2 separate regions of the Homo sapiens genome follow, and region 1 is linked to region 2. The links are contacts of gene promoters, found by promoter capture Hi-C in blood cells and fetal thymus (Javierre and others, 2016). All regions are on one chromosome and are shown on one strand. Each heading gives the region's core, a stretch centred on a gene start or on the middle of the fragment in contact. The rest is flanking DNA. Distances are from core to core; before and after follow the strand shown. Region 1 holds the start of FLT3 (fms related receptor tyrosine kinase 3). Region 2 holds the start of SLC46A3 (solute carrier family 46 member 3).

What was found. Contacts are between HindIII fragments. The CHiCAGO score rates a contact against its expected background, and 5 or more counts as called.
Region 1: the fragment with the promoter of FLT3 here is called in contact with the fragment with the promoter of SLC46A3 in region 2 in 2 of 17 cell types (monocytes and naive CD8 T cells); the score reaches 7.2 in monocytes.

Annotation. Positions count from the first base shown.
Region 1 is chr13:28,099,182-28,101,881 of GRCh38, reverse strand. It overlaps FLT3 (fms related receptor tyrosine kinase 3), which reads left to right and starts at 1,306. Exons shown (of 24, transcript NM_004119.3): 1 at 1,306-1,414. The coding sequence starts at 1,372. RefSeq lists an enhancer at 893-1,022 and silencers at 1,133-1,192, 1,313-1,472. The HindIII fragment of the contact is 16,771 bases long and covers 1-2,700 here.
Region 2 is chr13:28,717,703-28,720,402 of GRCh38, reverse strand. SLC46A3 (solute carrier family 46 member 3) reads left to right here and starts at 1,433. Exons shown (of 6, transcript NM_181785.4): 1 at 1,433-1,907; 2 at 2,381-2,593. The coding sequence starts at 2,405. The HindIII fragment of the contact is 12,183 bases long and covers 1-2,700 here.

The DNA of each region.
Region 1 (2,700 bases), core at 57-2,556, 620 kb after region 2:
GTATCAGAATTTCCCTCCTCTTTAAAGCTGAAAAATACTCAGTCGTATGTATATACTGCATTTTTGTTTATCATTCATCTGTTGTGGACATGGGTTACTTCTGCCTTTTGACTACTGTGAATAATGCTGCTTTCAACACGGGTGTACAGACATCTCTTCAAGACCCTGCTTTCAATTCTTTTGGCTACATGGCCAGAAATGGAATTGTTGGACCGTATTTTTTTTAATTTTTTGAGAAACCTCTATAGTGTTTTCCATAGTGGCTGCACCATGGTAGACACTTCTAAAGTTTCTGCCATACCCTAGGGGAAAGAATTATTGTACTGTAGACAACATCTAAGGAAAAGAACTGTATGGCCAAGAGTAAACAGTCAATTTTCATGCTTTATTAGAAAATAATTAAAATAATTAAGAGCGTGGAATTCCTAGAATTGGGAGAGACATTATGAACCATTTGGTCCATCCCTTTCCTTTACGATGAGTAAACAGAGGTTTGTGGAGGTCAAACGGCTAGTTAAGTAAGGGAAGAACCAGAACTGGCATCCAGAGCTTTCCAATCCTCAACTTATTGCAAAGAAAATAATAATAATTTTCAACTCGAAAAATTATGCGATGAAGAACAAGAACTATTGAGCGGATGATTCGCAACATCCTCTGGGATGTATTTTCTGTGTGTTTTGTTTTGAAGGCTGTTTGTTAACCTCCCTAATTGCCTTGGTTGACATTGAAACCCTGCCTGTTTTTCTTGATCCCGCCGCTGACTGGGTCCTGAGCATCCTAGGAGATGGAGGCAGAGACAAAGGAAATCAGTCCACAATTAAGAATGGAATGGTTCTTAATGGAATGCTCGCCTGTGCGCTGGCGGGAGTTGCCAGCGTGCCGAGCGGATTCAGCGCCTTTCTCAGGGCCTCAAAGATCCCAGCGCACTAGGAGGGTGGTTTGTGGCTCCCTGCAGTCCCCACGCCCCGGATCCAAACGACAGAGTTCGGGGACTCACAGGGGCAGCAAGGCGGCAGAGCCGCGGAGCCAGTGCAACTTCTCCGGCGGGACCGCGCCCAATCTTCCCCGCCGCAGTCGGGGAGCCCCGGGGGCCGCCGAGCACAGGCTGCGGACCGCGGCGGGCACGTGGGCTCGGCTGCAGCGCTGCGCCAGGCACCGGCTGCTCGGCTCTGCCCAACCTCTCCGCTCCCGCCTCGGTCCCTGCCTCTGGGGAGAGGGTTCCTCCCCCCTTCCACTTTGCACCAGTCCGAGGGAATTTGCGGTCGGTGACGCGCATCCTTAAGAGAGCCACCTGCAGCGCGAGGCGCGCCGCTCCAGGCGGCATCGCAGGGCTGGGCCGGCGCGGCCTGGGGACCCCGGGCTCCGGAGGCCATGCCGGCGTTGGCGCGCGACGGCGGCCAGCTGCCGCTGCTCGGTAAGGCCCCGCTCGCTCGCTCGCAGCCCCTCGCGGTCCCTCAGCCCCCACCCCGCAGTGTGGACCCGGGCGCGCGCCTCCTCCGGCCCAGCCGCCTCGCTCCTCCCCGCGCTCGCTCCTTCCATTGCCTCCCGCGCCCCTCCCCTCTTTCGCGCCCTCCGGACTCGCCCACTACTTGCCTGCGGCCCCGGCGTTTCCCACCCCGCGTCCTCTTCCCTCTTCTCCGAAGTCTCTCCTCTGGCTCGGGCCGCGGTCCCGAGTGGCGGCCCGGACTTCGCAGACGGCCTCGCCGAGGCGCTGCGCCGGGTCTGGGGCAGCTCGGCCCGCGCGCTCGGGTGCTGGGCCGTCCGTGGGAGTCTGCGGCCGCGAACTCGGCGCCAGGTGGCCAAGGACCTCTCCTGGCCCGGCCCTTGGATACTGTAGACACCTGGGTGTCGTCTTTAACTCTTCTTTTGAGGTTTTGATTTATGGAGGGAACTCTGATGGGAAAATGCGTCCGCGTTCTCCCCTAGAGCGAGTCATCCTCAATAACGATACCCCCCAGCCCCGCCGAATTTTGGTTGGATCAACGAATAGTTTACCTAGGAAATATTATGCAAACAGATTTACATATTAAAATACTAGCTGTCCCTTTCTTCTAGTCTCTTCTTATCCTGGCATAAACCCCAAAGGGGTTTTCAAGGACTCCGAGGACTGTCCCCAAAGAATCTGCTGGGTAGCATAGTTGTTATTGAAAAAAAAAATCTTCCCATCGGTTCGCGTCAGCTTTCTATTTGGAAAGATGAGAGGACTGAATCGAATTTGGGTTGAAGGCGACAGAGTTCTGGGTGCCCGGCAGCTCCGGTCCCTGTCCTAGGTCTGCAACCTTGGGACTGACACTCACCTCCCCCGGCCTCCGCGTCCTCATCTGTGCAGTGAGGGAGTCCGTCCGAGTCCCCTTCAGCTCTGAAATGCTAGGACTTGAAGTCTCTGTGGTAAATAGAGAAAATGCTTGCAATATAGAAGTGCAGGAATTATATCCAATAGCTTTTGTTACAAATAATTCTGAAATATAAAAAGTAAAAAATGGAAATCGGGGGAAAAGAGTTGAAAAACAAAGACATTTTAGTTCTTAAATAGTTATCTTTACTAGTTAGTAAATCTGTAATTTCAAATGTGTAGTACAATATGTTTTCCAGATTCCGTTAATACAAAATGTTAGCTTTCTATTATGTATGATATTAAGTAGTAAGTGCATTTTTCAGAAGCATAATGGGCTTTCTAAAGGTATAAGCATCAATACTTGC
Region 2 (2,700 bases), core at 184-2,683:
CTAAGTGCCGTTTAGAATAATATAGTACTTAGTACAAAGTACTGCAACTTAAAATATTATGTCTTCCTTGCAAACTGTATCTTACTCATGTTTGTTTATCTTCTTTCCAATATCCATGCTCCATTGTTTGAAACTCATAACAAGTGCTTCATAAATGCTGATTTGAAGAAGCTGGGAAGTAAGATTAAGTGGCAAGTCCAAGGTTACCAGCTACTAAGTATCAGTTAGGACTCAAACCTAAGACGTTTAACTCTGCATTCAGTGACACAACTGTCATTTAAGGAGTGCTGAGGAAGAGAAAGCAGCTCTGACATCCAGGTGCTGGAACTATCAGCTGGGCCTTGGTGTTGCTAAGAACTTTTCTGGACCATGGTGTTCTGTCGAATGAAAACAATTTCACGGAACACCAAAGTCAGACAAGAGCATTCTGTAACCATGATCAAGACAAAAACAAGACCACGTCATAATTTTGTCTGAACACGGACAAAATTTAGGCACTGTCTAAACCACAAAAATGACAAATATGTGTGACTGTTGCTTCTTTATCATTCATGGCTTTAGCCTCTGTCTAGTCTTGACTCCTAAATAAGACTTATTAAGATACCCAATCATAGAATTACTGCCATTTCCTGACAGCAACCAATCCAGAGTAAGGCCTTGCTTTCTTGAACTCTTCCCAAAATCACATAACGCAAGCCCATAGTAAATTCTAACACCTTCTTACTGAGATGCCCCCACGGTTCCTCATGCATGCATTTCTCCTGGCTTCAAGAAGTAGTAGCTCAATTCTTTTACTACAAGTTGTTCCTGGTGGGTGTGTTGGAGAGCACTGACAACTCCTCCTATGTCCAGGGGCTGTGTTGTGTATACATGCTGAGTGTTTAATTAGACAACCCTGTAAGACTTATCATCCCCACGTGGCAGATAAAGACATGGAGGTTCATGAAAATTTAACGATTTGCCCAAGTCCCCCCTCCCCTCCCCAGGAAAAGCCAGCGACCACATTCCAACCCTCCGCTAACTCTGCATTGAGCACTCTCTTTCCTATGCCCTCCACCTGCGCCCATTCCCCTCTTCTGCGGGCCGACCGGGATCCTGCTGGGGGCTACAGCCCAAACATGTTACTTTTCCAACTGTTGTTTTATGTGTTTCTATGAGAAAGGATATTCGGATTCAGAAATGCTTTGCAACTCCAGAGCTGTTGAGCCTGCGGCGCGGCCCACCACTCAACAGCGGTGCTGAGTGGCTGCTCGGTCGCGCGGGATCCACTCCGGGCCTCCGAGGGTGGGTGCACGATCCACTAGCCACTCTCCAGGGGAGAGTGACGTCCGGGTGGACCAATCGCCGCTGGGGCACCGACCGCTGGGCCCAATCGCAGGAGAGCCGGGTAGAACAGTGACAGCGCCGCGGCAGCCGACCCCGCCTCCTCGGCGGACAGCGATGCTCAGCTGGCTGCGGCCGAGTCATCGCCTAGCGCTGGCAGGGCCGCTGACCGACCGACGGAGGCGCCGATTGGCCGATTGTCCACTGCGCAGAAGGAGCAGCTGCTCCGCGCCCCGCCGCGCCGCGCTGAGGCCGAGGTCCGCAGGGCCGCGGGGAAGCCGAGGGCTGCCGGAGAACCCTGCAGGTGTCACTCGGGACGCGGAAGTGCGCTTGCCGAGGTTTGCTTTACAATACGCTTGAGACTCCCCGACAAGCGTAATTTGGTCGAGTTCGACGGGAAAGTACTCTCCCCACCCCAGCGCCGGCCGCGTAGTCCGAGGTTACTGTCCCCGGCGCGTCCTCTGTTGCCCCAGTCCAGAGGCTGCCCTTGAACCCGGGCGCGCACGAGCGCAGGGCATCCGAGGCGACAGCCCCTGGCACGGCCCGACCTGTACCCAGCCTGGCAGGAAGACTGTAATCGTGGGGTGAGTTAAAAATAAGGCCCTTTCGATTGGGAGCTGCTTTTTAAAACGCCCCCTCCCTGTCCGTTTTTAATACGCAGCAAAATAACAATAACAATTGTGCAACTGTCGCTTCCCAAAAGGAACCTCATTGTTGAACTTACGAAAAATCAGTTGGCAATATACAGTGTGGGAACTGTACTGTGATCATTGGCTAACCAAGATGGGTGACAGTTTATGATTTCAAAGACTCAAAGGCGGCTTGAGTCCTACAATGTCCTACTCATAAAAATGGAAAGCATGGCAGCCTCAGGTTGTTACAGAGTACTCTACTCCAAAGTAAAAGTTATTCTCTGAGAAAGTGCTTACTGCCTTTTCTGTTCTCTAGTTTGCTTGTTTAAACATTTACTCCACAAAATTGCTCAAACTTACCCATCTTTGAATATCTAGCCTCTGGGATGAGACAGATGATCTTTCTCCGTTTTCACTTTTTATAGAATACAGCTACCTACCCAGGCAATATGAAGATTTTATTTGTAGAACCTGCCATTTTCCTTAGTGCATTTGCTATGACTTTGACCGGTCCACTGACAACGCAATATGTTTATCGGAGAATATGGGAAGAAACTGGCAACTACACTTTTTCATCTGATAGCAATATTTCTGAGTGTGAAAAAAACAAAAGCAGCCCAATTTTTGCATTCCAGGAGGTAAGAAATTACAATATCCATAGTATTTAATAAAATGGGAATGTATACCGGGCTTTGAGTTAAAGAGGACCGTGAACTCATCATCCATTGGTCTCTCTAGGGCGGCC